Linked DNA regions of Homo sapiens: region 1 is linked to region 2. Evidence: promoter capture Hi-C in 16 types of primary human blood cells and fetal thymus (Javierre and others, 2016). All regions are on one chromosome and are shown on one strand. Each heading gives the region's core, a stretch centred on a gene start or on the middle of the fragment in contact. The rest is flanking DNA. Distances are from core to core; before and after follow the strand shown.

Region 1 (7,455 bases), core at 2,390-4,889, 490 kb after region 2:
GCTCCATTATCCTTAGCTTTCATTCCCAAGGTCACTTCATGGTCCAAGATGGCTGCTGGAGCACCAGTCTACATGTCCTTGGAAGGAAAAAGGAAAGGCAAAGTGGAAAAAGTGGAGTTGAGTCCCTTAAACAACCTTCCTGGAAATACTACACATTTTACTTTTGTCTCATTGTCCAGAACTTGGTCACATGACCATGCCAAGCTGCAAAGGAGGCTAGGAAATCTGGTCTTTTATTTTGCTTTTCTATGTGCCAAGTTAAAAATTGGGTCTGTCACTAAAGAGTTGAGAGACTCAACTAGCAGTTTCTGGCATAATGCCCCACAGAAATAATGTTCCACAGAACCTAAATTGGGATAAAATGACTAAGTAAGGAGATTGATTTTTTAAACATTTTTAGCAGCTTTATTGTGGTATAATTCACATACCATACAATTTGCTTACTGCAAGTATACAGTTTGACGATGTTTAGTAAATTTATACAGTTGTGCAACCATCACCACAATCCAGTTTTAGAATATTTCTGTCACCCTCAGAAGTTCCTTGTTCCCTCTTGCTGTCAATCTCCACTCCCACCCCCAGGCCTGGGAAACCATTGATCTGCTTTCTTCTTTGGAGTTCTGCCTTTTTGAGAAATTTCGTATAAACAGAATAGTACAATATGTAGTCTTCTGTGTCTGGCTTATTTAATGTAATAATTGTGTGGTTCATTGTGTTGTAGAGTGTTTTGTCAGTTTGTACTTTTTAAAATTGCTTGAATGGCATTCCATTGTCTGCATATGCCACTCCATTGTCTGCATATGCCACCTTTTATTTATCACTTACTAAATGATGGACATTCGGATTGTTTCCACATTGGGACTATTATGAATAATGCTGCTATAAACCTTCAAGTAGAAGTCCTTGTGTGGACATATGTTGTCATTTCTCTTGGGTAGATGCCTAAGGAGACTGGTGTTTAAAACTGAATTCGTTCACTGAAAAGACATTTATTGAGTGCCTATTACTGACAAGTATTGTGCTAGATGCCAAGGATACAGTAGTGAATAAAATTTGACACAAACTCAGCCCTCATGGAGCTTGCAGTCTATAGAAGAGAAAGGCATTAGTCCAGTAGTCATGCGAACAAACGTAACATCACAGCAGTGGTAAGTGTGTGCTATAAAGGAGGGGTATAAGATGCTGTGAGAGATTATGCTAGAAGGATCTGCCTTTGTCAAGGAGGTCAGGAAAGCTGCCCTTGAGCTGAGTTCTGAAGTGTGTGAGAATGTAGTCACTCTGATTTCTGTCTTTCAAAGTAATATCTTAAGAAGCCATATACTTATTTCCAATAATGCTGCCCTTGCAAACATGTCTGAGCCAGTTTATAGACACACTGGTCTTGGGCCTATTTGTGCTTAGATAAAGTCTCTGTGTTTTAATCTCTCAGAGTTTTTGAAAACTGTGAAGCAAGCACAACGCACTGTCAGTAAAGGTACCTTTTCAGTCATCTCTCTCTCTCTCTTTTTTTTTTTCTTCAGAGACAGGATCTTGCTGTGTTGCCCAGGCCGGTCTCAAACTCCTAGACTCAAGCAATCCTTCTGCCTTGGCCTCCCCACACACTGGGATTACAGGCATGAGTCACTGCTCCCGGCCCATCTCTTATATTATTTTCTGTATGTTTGAAATATTTCATGATTAAACATCTTAAAAATATCCTTTTTAGTTCCCTTGAGAATTGTACCTGCCAAGCAGCCCAGCCTGTCTTGTCAGACCCTGACCTTGTTCTCTCTCTGTGGGAAGAGGAGACATGATCAGAAGGTGATTTCTGGAACCTGGAACTGAGGGGATGATGCTAATAGCCAGTATTCTGGAACTACACTGGTCCAATCCCTGTATCTCTACTGTAGGGGTGAATCTGCCACAAGGCATCCTCCTGCCAGAAGCTCCATTCTCCAGCACAAAGCTGGATAAGACTAGTTAAGCCCACAGGCTTTGAAGCCCTACAGATGTGGTTCAAATCTCAGCTCTACCACTAGTGTCCTTAAGAAAGTCACTTAACAGGCCAGGCATGGTGGCTCATGCCTGTAATCACAGCACTTTAGGAGGCTGAGGTGGGTGGAACACCCGAGGTCAGGAGTTTGAGACCAGCCTGGCCAACATGGTGAAACCCTGTCTCTACTAAAAATGGAAAAATTAGCTGGGCTTGGTGGCACACACCACTGTAATCCCAGCTACTCAGGAGGCTGAGGCAGGAGAATTGCTTGAACCTGCGAGATGGAGGTTGCAGTGAGCCAAGATTGTGCCACTGCATGCCAACCTGGGTGACAGAGTGAGACTCCATCTCAAAAAAAAGAAAAAAAAAGAAAGTCACTTAACTTACAGTTTCATGATTCCAATAATAGGGTTGTTGTGTGGATTAAATGATTCATGCAAAGTGCTTTGCACATGGCAACTGCTCAACAAATTGGTTATTAATATATAATTATCGCAGCCTTTCCTCTGCCTCCCATTTCCCCGTGTTCTGTATAGACTTTCCCCCTTTGTCGACCTGCAGGTTTTGAAACATATTAATTCCATTGATTTAACTGAAGTCAATCTCTGTTCTTGTGTTTGGCTTGGGGAACCTTCTGTCTTTTGGAGTGCCTTCTACTGATATATGGCCTCTACCCCTCATGTATTAATCTCACTGATTTAACTCTTACAGTGCCACAGAGCTCTCACTCTCACCCATGTATAGCACTACCGCTATTTTGATTTTTTAAATCCAAGGTTATATATAAAAATGACTGTGGTCCCTTTCAGTTACTATGATTTATGGAAAATCACACCTCAAATGTTCTTGGGCAGGATTTTTCAAAAACGCTGGTCACGCTACCCTGAAACAGCTTCGTAAATCCTTCATTCTTGCTCAGCAGTGTACTTTCCTGCAATGACCATTAGACAGTTTCAGCCATAAAAACTTGCTTAAGGCCGGGCGCTGTGGCTCATGCCTGTAATCCCAGCACTTTGGGAGGCCAAGGCGGGTGGATCACTTGAGGTCAGGAGTTCGAGACCAGCCTGGCCAACATGGTGAAACCCTGTCTCTACTAAAAATACAAAAATTAGCTGGGCATGGTGGTGTGCGCCTGTAACCCCAGCTGCTTGGGAGGCTGAGGCAGGAGAATCACCTAAACCTGGGAGGCGGAGGTTGCAGTGAGCTGAGATAGCACCATTGCACTCCAACCTGGGCAATAGAGCAACGCTCTGTCTCCAAAAACAAACAAACAAACAAACAAAAAAAAAAAAAAACAAAAAAAACCACAGCAACAAAAAAGTTCTTAAGCTTTTTACTAAGCCTCAAGTTGCTGTAGAATCCTTTTCTTTATGTGTGCAATTCTACCATCAACATTACTGACCAATTTGGTGAGGCTACCGTCTGAAAACTGGTAATAAAAATAAGCAACACAGTTTTACATACTAGAAACAAAAAACTATAGTTTTAAAAAATTAATTAGTTTCCATGTTTTTGCTGAGGTGAAGCATGGTAACTGTCCTTCCAGTTGGCCCCCAGTGATACTCACTTGCTGTGATTCAAACCCTTATACTGCCCTCTCCTGTACTGAATAGACCTGATTTATGTATGTAACCAGTAGGATATTGCAGAAGTGACAGAGTGTAACTTCCAATGCTAGTCATAAATGGCATTGCAGCATCTGTCTTGCTGTTTTGGGTAATTTGCAATGGGAAGAGTCCATTGTCATGACATGAGGACATTCAGTCAGCCTTATGGAAAAAGTCTTTGTGGCAAGAACTCAAGGCCTCTTGTCAGGAACCATGTGAATGGGCCATCTTGGAAGTAGATCCTCCATGCCTAGTCAAGCCTTCAGATGAGACTGCATCCATCCCCAGCCAACATTTTGACTGCAACCTCATGAAAACCTAAGTCACTCTCAAATTTCTGACCTATGAAAACTATGTGAGATAATAAATGTTTATTGTTGTTTTTAAGCCACCAAGCTTTGGAGATAATTTGTAATGCAGCAATAGATAACAGTATTTCCTTGGGTGATACAACTGACAGCCATCATTAAGTTACTGTATATTTAAAATGTGCTTTGTATAAATTTGCCCCACATTTTAAGTGTTTTCTTAACATATGATCTACATCCAGATATTTTAGGTTATTCTATGACTCATTTCAGTCCCATTCAGCAAACATGCTGTATTAGTCTGTTCTCACACTGCTATAAAGAACTACCTGAGACTGGGTAATTTAGCAAGAAAAGAGGTTTAATTGACTCACATTACTGCAGGCTGGACAGGAAGCATGATTGGGGAGGCCTCAGGAAACTTACAATCATGGTGGACGGGCAAAGGAGAAACAAGCACATATTCACGTGGCGGCAGGAGAGAGAGAGAGAAAGAGAGAGAAAGAGAAAGGGGAAGTGCTACACACTTTTAAACAACCAGATCTCATGGGAACTCATTCACTATCATGAGAACAAAAAGGAGGAAATCTGCCCCCATGAGTCAATCACCTCCCACCAGGTCCTTCCCCTAACATTGGGAATTACAATTCAACATGAGATTTGGTTGAGGACACAGAGCCAAACCGTATCACTTGCATTGCCTACTTGTATCAAAGCCTGTTCGTAACAGAAAACTCCAGATCAACCATCAGCAATTTGAACGAAACTGATGGCAGTAAGTTGTTTTTCTCCATCCAATTCCATTTATTGTGAATGATTCTTATGCTTTCATGATTGTAGTTAAATCTCTGGATGCCAGGAAGTCCAGCTCCTACCACTTCTTTTGCTTCTTTTTGGAATATATGCCAGAAGGGAATAAAGTTGAAGAGAATGATGCCCCCATGTTACTAAAACATGCACTGTTACATTGACAGTTCATAATAGCTAATTTTATTGCATAATTAATATGAACTAAGCACTGCTTTTAAAATTTTTAAAAATAATTTCAATTTTTATTTTAGATTCAGTGGGTACATGTGCAGGTTTGTTACATGTGAATATTGTGTGATGCTGAGGTTTGGGGTGTGAATGATCCCGTCACCCAGGTGGTAAGTATAGCACACAATAGGAGTTTTTTCAGTCCTTCCCTCCTTCCTCCCTCCCACCACTAGTAGTCCCCAGTGTCTATTGTTCCCATCTTTATGTCCATTTGTACCCAATGCTTAGCTCCCACTTATAAGTGAGAACATTTGGTATTTGGTTTTCTGTTCCTACATTAGTTAGCTTAGGATAATGACCTCCAATTACATCCATGTTGCTGCAAAGGACATGATTTTATTCTTTGTTATGGCTAGATAGTATTCTATGGTGTATATGTACCACATTTCATTATCCAATCCACCATGGATGGCCATCTAGGTTATTCTATGTCTTTGCTCTTGTGAATAGTGCAGTGACGAATGTATGAGTGCACATGTCTTTTTGGTAGGATGACTTATTTTTTGGGGGGTATACACCCAGTAGTAGAATTGCTGGATTGAATGGTAGTTTTGAGTTATTTGAGAAATCTCTAAACTGCTTTCCACAGTGGCTAGACTAATTTACATTCCCACCAACAGTGTATAGGTATTCCCTTTTCTCTGAAGCCTCGCCAGCATCTATTATTTTCTGACTTTCTAATAATAGCCATTCTAAGTGGTGTAAGATGGTATTTCATTGTGGTTTTGATTTGTGTCTTGATGATTAGTGATGTCGAGGTTTTTTTTTAATATATGTTTGTTGGCCACTCATATTTCTTCTTTTGAGAAATCTTTGTTCATGTTCTTTGCCTACTTTCTTTATTTTTTGGAGGCAGGATTTCATTCTTTTGCCTAGGCTGGAGTGCAGTGGTGCGATCATGGCTCACTGCAGCCTCAACCTCCTGGGCTCAAGCAATCTTACATTAGCCTCCCGAGTAGGTAGGACTACAGGCATATGCCACCACATTGTAGTTTTTTGTAGAGATGGGGTTTCACAATGTTGCCTAGGCTGGTCTCAAACTTCTGGGCTTAAGTGATCTGCCTGCCTTGGTCTCCCAAAGTGCTGGGATTATAGGCCTGAGCCACTGTGCCTGGCCCTTTGCCTACTTTTTAATGGGGTTGTTTGTTTTTGCTTTCTTGATTTGTCTAAGTTCCTTACAGATTCTGGATATTAGACCTGTTTTAGATGCATAGTTTGCAAATATTTTCTCCCATTCTGTAGGTTGTCTGTTTACTTTGTTGAAAGTTTGTTTTGCTGTGTGAAAGCTGTTTAGTTTAATTAGGTCCCACTTGTCAATTTTTGTTTTTGTTGTGATTGCTTTTGAGGACCTAATCATAAATTATTTTCCAAGGCCAATGTCCAGAATGGTATGTCCTAGGTATTCTTCTAGGATTTACTTATAGTTTGAGGTTTTACATTTAAATATTTAATCTATCTTGAGTTAATTTTTGTATATGGTTAAAAAGTATGGGTCCAGTTTCATTCTTCTGCTCATGGCTAGCCAGCTATCCCAGCACCATTTATTGAATAGGAAGTCTTTTCCTCATTGCTTATGTTTGTCAGCTTTGTCAAAGATCAGATGGCTGTAGCTGTGTGGCTTTAATTCTGGGTTCTCTATTCTGTTCTGTTGGGCTGTGTGTCTGTTTTTGTACCAGTACCATGTTGTTTTGGTTACTGTAGCCTTATGGTATAGCTTAATATTGGGTAATGTGATGCCTCTGGCTTTGTTCCAAGCACTGTTTTAAATGCTTTACATGTATAAAATATTTAATTCTTACAAAGAAAAAGTTATTACCCTCATTTTACAAATAGTAAAACTGAGGCACATCACTGGAAGGAAGGCTGCAGAGTCTAGAGCTATCACCATCTCTGTCTGTCAGCCACAAGCCCAGGTGCCAAAGTGCAGCAGTAGCTGCCACACAAATAGCAGTTCAGTCCAGTGTCCTAGCTTTCCTAGGCTCCCGCTCTAGGTATCACAAGCAAAAACAAGGCTAGGATTTGACAGAAGGAAAAGTGAAAAGAAAGCACCAACAAAGCATACAAACAAAAACATTTACAGAACACAGATGCTGTGATGGTTAATGTTATATGTCAACTTGACTGGGCTAAGGGACGCACAGATAGCTGGAGAAACATTTCTGGGTGTGTCTCTGAGGATGTTCCCAGGATAAATTAGCATCTGAATCAGTAGACTTAATAAAGAAGATTGCCCTCACCAATGTTAGTGGGCATCGTCTGTTGAGGGCCCAAAGAGAATAAAAATATGGAAGAAGAGTAAATTCCCCCTCTCCTTGAACTGGGACATTGGAGTTCCTGGTTCTCAGGCTTTGGATTCTGAAAACTACACCTGCACTCCCCTCACCTCTACTCTCTGTTCTCAGGCCTTCAAGCTTGAACTAGGAATTATATCATAAGATCTCCTGGTTCTCAGGCCTTTGGACTCATACTGAATCAAACCTCTGGATTTCCTGGTTCTACAGCTTGCAGATGGCAGATAGTGGAAATA
Region 2 (7,365 bases), core at 4,866-7,365:
TTGTTTTAAATATGTGATTTAAAGTATGTACCTGTAGCTAAATAAACTATTATATGTGGACATTTGCATCTCTAAAAAGTTTATATTTTAGTTGCAAAAAAAAAACAACCCACAAAACAACTTGGAGTGACCCTATGATGAAAATGAGTGTTTGCCTTGTATCTGGAGTGGCCATCTCTTTCAGGCATATACAGTCTCTCACTTTGCTCTATCTCCACAGACACTAACAGGTTTCAGTAAAGCCAAGTGTCCCTTCTCAGTGCTCCAATGGCCCCCATCACACTGAATTGTCATGGTCTGTTGGCATTTCTGTACCCACTGCTGGAGTGGGAACTTGTTCTGACTCAGCTGTGCTGTCTTAGTGCTCTAGAGGATGCATCCGTGAAGCGTGTTGCAAGGAGGAGAGAGAAAAACAGAAAAGTGCAGGTCTGCCCTGGCCTGGGCTTTCCCCTTCTCTTCCTTTATTGCCATATGTTGCCTCAGTGATGCAGTCACAGTGTCCCTGCCACCTTTCAGAAGAAGATACATCTGCAGCCCAGCTGGAGAACCTCAACATCTGGGTCCCACTATGGGGGCCAATCAGCAGAGATACACCAAGGTCAATGGAGACAGCAGTCCCTGGGAGCAGCCGAGCCAGGTGTGATTTTGCCTTGAGAGAGAACACGAGGCTCTTGAGGGACAGATAACACAACCCAGGTGAGGAGGAAAGCAGGTGGACATGACCTAAGAAGTGTGAGGCCTGATGACTAAGTTGGAGCCACAGATAGATTTGGGGGCCAGGGGTCAGGAGCCTAAACAGCAGGTTGTGGGTGGAGTTCAAGGTGCACTGAGGTTAGTTCTTAGCAAGTAGTACTGGCTGTGTGCTGAGGTGCAGGCTGGCTCACAAACCCAGAGGAGGGGCTGTTCAGATGTCTAACACGAGAAACTGAGTAAAAATTAAAGAATGGTTTAGGCCAGGTGCAGTGGCTCACGCCTGTAATCCCTGCACTTTGGGAGGCTGCAGTGGGTGGATCCCCTGAGGTCAGGAGTTCGAGACCAACCTGGCCATCATGATGAAACCCCCGTCTCTACTAAAAATACAAACAATTAGCTGGGCATGGTGGCACGCGCCTGTAATCCCAGCTACTCAGGAGGCTGAGGCAGGAGACTTGCTTGAACCCGGGAGGCAGAGGTTGCAGTGAACCGAGATTGCGCCACTGCACTTCAGCCAGGACGACAAGAGTAAAAAAAAAAAAAAAAAAAAATGGTTTAAAGAAAAAGGACAATGTTTTACACATGGATCAAATTAGACACTGCAAGACTATAAATCTGCACCCTTCTAATGTGAAAAGGGCTTCACTGAGCTATACTTGTATATTATGCCCTCGATATTCACTCAAGGCCATTACAAGGAACAAATGAAAACGGCATCAGCATTTGCTATTAACCAGTTGAGAACATTCTCCACTATTTCAACTAAATAAGTATCCAGGTGAGAAACTTCTTTTATAATTTAACCCCAGAAATTTTTTTTACTCCAAAGAACCAGTTAACAGAATAGAAAGTGTTATTGTTTTGGCTATCAGGAAGCTCAGCCATGTTTAATTCTCAATCACATCAGCTACATTAACCCATAAACCATATTATCGTCCTCCTCCTTATAATCTCATCTCCTATTTCTATATTTTATTCTCTATTTTTAAGTACTCAAAACATTTTTAAAGGGCTGAAAAAGAATACACTTGTGGTAGACATAGCAACGTGCCACCCAGATCCCCTTCAAAGAAGGACTTGTTGACCCAACTATTGGGAGAGCTGTCAGCAGAAAATCTTCAGCTGTCAGCCCCTCGAAGATCATCTTGGCTGCAGAGTGCCATCTGGCCCAGGCTAGGCTCTTCCCAGGACATTACAACTCCTTTCCAGGCTAGTGCCAGACAACAGAGATCCTGGGAGTTGGCTGAGACTGTCATCAGGCCTGCATCTCAGTTTAGTTTTCCCTGTGCCCACTCCTGTTTCTTTCCAGTACCTCCCAGAGTGTTGATCCCAGGGCCACTCCCCAATAAACATACTGCACACTAACCTGTCACAGAGTCCACATCCAAAGAACCCAACCTGTGACAGCACCAAATCAAAAGAGACTCAGGAGGCTGAGGCAGGACTGCTTGAACTCGGGAGGCGGAGATTGCAGTGAGCCAAGATTGTGCCATTGCACGCCAGCCTGGGCGACGAGAGAGAAACTCTGTCTCAAAAAAAAAAAAAAAAAAAGAGAGAAAACATATCAGGTAGGGGTATTTTACAAAGGAGAGAGGATATACAATAAAGTGTTCATACATACATGGGAAGCAAAACAGCACTGACTCTGGGGCCAGACTACCTGGGTTTGAATCCTGCCTTTTAGCTCTGTGCCTCAGTTTTTTCATCTGGAAAATGGGGATAATAAGAGCACTTATAGGGCTGTAATGAGGAAGAAATGAGACAATGTGGATAAAGCAGTTCCATAGTGTTTACTATATGTCAACCACTGTTCTAAGTGGTCATTTAATAAACAGCTGTGAGGCCAAACCCACAGGTCCCGAGGGGCAGTTGGGCTGGGACTCTCCCCAGACTCTGGGCATGGGCACAGGTACAGTGTAGGCCAGGGCATGCTGAAGCATGCATGTTCACAGAAATAGGCCTGAGCAGGGCTAGCATGGGTGACGTCACAGGCGTGTGCTTGTGTGGGTGCTGGGCTGCTCCTCCCAGACAGCGCAGCTGCACGTATTGCCATTCACACCCACGCACCCATATATATGCTGAGCTGGGGGAAGCCCACACAGACCACACCCTCTGCATGCCCTGTTTTTCCTGCACCTCCTTTGGTGGAAGGAGGCACCTGAGGCCTGGGATGCTGGCCCAGAAGTCCCAGGAGGAAATGGGTCCTGTTCCCTGATTACAGGCCTGGCAACGGGCTGAAAACTCAAGCTCTTGTTGGCAGGGATTTCTTGAGCCCCTAGAGGTCCAGACCCAGAGGCAAAAGTAAAAGCAAGGAAGCCTTACCCTGCATGTTAGGAAGCTCCCAAAAAAATGGAGAAACGGATGTAAAAAGTGCATCAGAGCCCACAGGCTGCCGGAGTCAGCACAGTAAGCTCAATGAGGGCTGCAGCACTTAAGAGGGTGCCTCCTGTACAAAACAGGATCAGACAGCCAGAGAGGGGCCCCATTCAGCCCCCGTCTGCCTTCCTGGTCTCATCACTCCCTGTCCCCTCCTCAGTCAGGAAACTCTAGCTTTGTAACCCTAAATTCAACAACCTCTTCCTGGCCTCAGGGCCTTTGTACATGCTGTTACCTCTACTTGGAATGTACTTTTCTCCAACCCACCTTTAATAATTCACCTCGCCATCGACTCACTTCCTTTAGACCTCTGCTGAGGTCTGAAGAGATCTCGACCCAATGTTTTTCCTTCTAGCCCTCATCATAATTGTCTTTATGTAACAGAGTGTTTATTTAATGTCTGAACTCCCAGAGAGCTGGCGCTGTGTCTCTCTTGTGCTCCTCATGTTGTCAATGCCCAACACAGAGAAGAGCAGGGTCCACAGAACTTCAAGCCTAAGCCAGTTCAAGCCACACTCTGTGAGCACTCACGTTCTGCTGGATTCCCTGTGCCCAAGGCCAGCGGTGAGCATGCCTCCCCTCACCCATGCTGATTAACCAGATAGCCTCCATGCCCACTGACTACTGACCACCAGGACTTACCTAAGCCAGTGGATCTCCTGTGAGGCAGAAAACTCATGGAGTCAGGCCGACTTGGGTTCTAGTTCCCACCTAGTCATGTTATGTGGCTTTGGGGCAAATTGTAGAACTTCTCTGAATCTCTGTTTCCTCATCAGTAAATTGTGGACCATCATTCCTGATTAGAAGATAATTATGAGGATCAGGTGTGACCACAGGTGCACACCTTCAGCACAGGGTCTACGCTAGCTCCGTCCCGCCCACGTAAAGACCTGCCACTAGGTGGCAGTCCATCTCAGCTACCCCACCGCTCCTTACTCCACAGAGGCTGGCTAGGACAAAGGGTCTCAATGTCATGCTGAATTCTGAGCTTCTTAGGGGACGCACTTGAGGAAATCAACGTTAACACACAAGTTTCCACTACAGCAAGACAAAGTCAGAAGCAGCAGCCCCAGGTCACTATCCAGCTGAGTGGGTTGCCTGAGCACACGCTCTTACAAACTCTAGTCTAGTCCTACTATCTCACAATTCCCAGGAAGCCTGGCTCTTTCTCTGGCATCAGCTGGAAGCTCTGTTGGGCTTCTCACCTCTGAAATGCAGTAAGTTGTCCTGCTGTGCCTGGCAGCCGACCCACTGCCTGGCTCAACATGTCAGACAGGCTCCACCGCGACCGTGGGTGTCCTCAATTTTGGCGGTGCTGACAAGGGTAGATAGATTGCAGGGGTGAGTTTCAAGAATGGCTTCAGAAAGACAAAGAGTATGAATTATATTCCATAACCAGAAAAAGGCCTTGTGGCTGGAGAATGGAGAGTGAAGGATCACTTGTGAGAGATGAAACTGGTGAGATGGGCAGGTCATATAGAACCTGCTAGGCCAAGCAGGGAGTGTGGATTTTAGGTGCAATGGGAATTCACGGAGGGTTTTAGCCTGGATGTAGGGGATCATGATTTAATTTCATTTTAAAGATTTAAAGCATGATAAATCCAGGCAAAACCAAACTGATAGATCCAGGCAAAACCAAACAAGGTGAGTAGTCTGGGTGACAGGAGATGGGGCCTTCAGCTTGTGGGCTGAGTGACAAGGTCTTGATGGATTGGAGGTGAGGCAAAGGGAGGAATCAAAGTTAGCTGCAAGGTTTTTGACCTTCCAACTTAGAGAAGTTTAGCGCCGCGTTCTGAGAAAGTGAAGACTGTGGAAGGAATCGTTTGGGGAGGGAAGGCGAGCTGTCTAAGGGGGGGGGATGTGGAACATGCAGTGGGATGCTGGGGCCTGGAACGTAGGGGAGATGCAGGTTTGGAGTCACCGGTGCCTGTGTTGTTGGGCAAAGCCAGGGGAAAGGTCAGGTCGCCTTGGGATCTGGCCTAGCACTGAGTGCAGAGGAAGAGAAGCTTCTGAGATCGAGAGGCAGCGGCTACAGGAGGAGGAAGAAAGCAAGGCGGGGAAAACCAAAGTTCAGGAGAGCATTTGCAGGAGGGCGCTGCGGGGTAGGGTCTGAGTCGGAGCCCCGAATCGGACTCGAGTCCTGTCGCGTGGGGACGGAGCGTGCAGAGGCCCATGCGAGGGACAGACACAAAGGCCCTGGGAGCTGCAGGTCAGACCACTGGACAGCGCGGCCGCGGACCTAACGCCCCTGTAAGGGGTGCTCACGCTTGGGGGGAACTCTCCGAAAGAGAGGACCACTGAAAGCCACCCTGGCAGCAGGGGCGGAACAGACAGACGTGGGTCTGGCCGTCGCCAGAACTGCCTGCGGACCAGCCCCGCGCTGCCGGGGGGGCGGGACATGTCGGCTGTCCATCAGTGCCCGCGACCAATCCGCAGGCAGCCCCGCCCCCGCCCCTCCCGGGAGAGGGCGCGCGGAGGACCCGCCGCCGCCGGTGTGAGGCGGCCCGTCCTGGCTCCCTTGTCCGGGAAGCCCGCCCAGGTAACTGAGTTTGGCCGGGCATTCCCGGAGGACGCGCCATCCCCTCACGTCCCGTCCCGGTCGCTGCATGGGCGGTGTTCGGGACGCGGGGGCTGCGTCTGTGCGGGACCGCGGGGTAGCGGCCGCCCGTGCGAGTACGCCTGACTGACGCGCCGGCCGCCGGGCCTGCGGCCTGTGGGCGGGGCTGCCGTGCGTGACAGGGCCGCTCGTGGCCGCCGGGCTGTGTCCGGGGCCGCGTGAGAAAGCTCTGCGGGACTGAGGGCTGGGTGGGTCGACCGGGAACGGCGCGCGCTCCCGCCGCCATCGCGCCTCCGTCCCCGCCTGCGGCCTGTCTGGGGGTCGCGGGGCGCAGGCGCGGCGGGCCGACGGGCGGGGGTCCTCCCCACGGGTGCGCGGGCGCCTTTGTTCCCGGCGCCGAAGCGGGGTGGGGCCTCAGGGCAGCCCCGCCCCGCCGCGCTGAGGCCCCGCCCCGTGTCCGCCTGCAGGAGCCGCCGCCGGGTCCCGCTCGTCTGCCGCCTCAGCCTCAGCCCCAACCTCAGCCGCCGCCGTTGCGCTTGCTCCCGGGCGGTCCTGGCCTGTGCCGCCGCCGCCCCCAGCGTCGGAGCCATGGCGGGCGCCGCGTCCCCTTGCGCCAACGGCTGCGGGCCCGGCGCGCCCTCGGACGCCGAGGTGCTGCACCTCTGCCGCAGCCTCGAGGTGGGCACCGTCATGACTTTGTTCTACTCCAAGAAGTCGCAGCGACCCGAGCGGAAGACCTTCCAGGTCAAGCTGGAGACGCGCCAGATCACGTGGAGCCGGGGCGCCGACAAGATCGAGGGGGCCAGTAAGTGCGCCCACTTCCTGCCTGGGCCCGCCCCGCGCGGGGGTCGTGGGAGCCCGGCCCGACTGCTTGCACCCCGGCCGGCCGCCCCAGCGACTTGGGCAAACTTTCGGGCCCTCCCAGACTCCCTCCGGGCCCCGCCCCCGCTTCGTCTCGGGTGGTCACTGGGGGCGGGGGGCATCCGGGTCCTCGGTCACCTGACAGGACACCCCCCCTCCCCCAGCTGGGGGGAGTGTTCCAGGCGCTTTGCCCTGAGGCCTAAAAATCCTCGCGGGCTGGAGACCTGCGGTGCAGGCATCGGGCCCCCCAGACCCTGGGAGTGGTGGCGGCGTCGGCGAGGGGAGCTAAGGCAGTGGCCCCCACCCTGCACGGGAACCTGGGGCCTGACCAGACGGTCCCCGCCCACTCTTTATCCAGAAAGAGCAGTCTGTGAAACTCTCCGGGCCCCCAGGCTGGGCTCTTATTTGCAAAGGAATCTTTGGGTTCCCTAAGTAGAACTTAGGCAGATGTTGGGTAGGGCTGGTCTTGGAGCAGAGCTGGGCCTACTCATCTCCCTCTGGGGGAGAGGGAGGAAGGTGGTCTTGTTTGGTTTGGAGAAGCCTGAGAGAAGCCAGTGGCTGGAATTTTTTTTTTTTTTTTTCTGCTACTTTTGTCCCAAAGCTGGGTTTTGGAGGCCTATGTGGGTGGGCAGACACTCAATGCCAGGGCAGGGACTCCCCTTGCCCTGGGAAGCACGTTCCCAGGAGATGGGCCCCATAAAGGCCTGCCCCAGCGCCTTGGAGTCAGGTATTCTTCTCAGGAGTGCAGCTAGTTTGTGAGTCTAGCCCTTTGTCCTCTGTCCGGTGGCTTCAGGGAGCGGGAGCGGCTTCTCTTAGTTTCCTGCCTTTTCGCCTTCCCAGGCCTGAGCTTGGCTGCTTTTGCGCTGGTCTCTAGTGGG

What was found. The method cuts DNA at HindIII sites, captures the fragments that hold promoters and counts their contacts. A CHiCAGO score of 5 or more calls a contact.
Region 1: a contact is called between a fragment that was not itself captured here and the fragment with the promoter of PLCG1 in region 2, in 3 of 17 cell types (naive CD4 T cells, activated CD4 T cells and total B cells). The highest score is 8.6, in naive CD4 T cells.

The regions. Positions count from the first base shown.
Region 1 is chr20:41,623,628-41,631,082 of GRCh38, forward strand. No RefSeq gene overlaps it. Among named protein-coding and RNA genes, the nearest start is that of CHD6, 9.0 kb to the left of the region's middle. The HindIII fragment of the contact is 674 bases long and covers 3,303-3,976 here.
Region 2 is chr20:41,131,428-41,138,792 of GRCh38, forward strand. It overlaps PLCG1 (phospholipase C gamma 1), which reads left to right and starts at 6,116. Exons shown (of 32, transcript NM_002660.3): 1 at 6,116-6,431. The coding sequence starts at 6,215. It overlaps LOC124904903 (translation initiation factor IF-2-like), which reads right to left and starts at 6,086. Exons shown (of 2, transcript XM_047440629.1): 1 at 4,275-6,086; 2 at 2,416-3,865. The coding sequence starts at 5,912. The coding sequence ends at 5,331. PLCG1-AS1 (PLCG1 antisense RNA 1) reads right to left here and starts at 6,573. Exons shown (of 7, transcript NR_109889.1): 1 at 6,287-6,573; 2 at 4,275-4,384; 3 at 3,712-3,865; 4 at 2,060-2,218. RefSeq lists silencers at 658-707, 5,386-6,375, 6,496-6,755 and enhancers at 2,571-2,750, 4,631-5,415, 6,200-6,984, 6,906-7,005, 7,154-7,233 and 1 more. The HindIII fragment of the contact is 8,103 bases long and covers 5,074-7,365 here.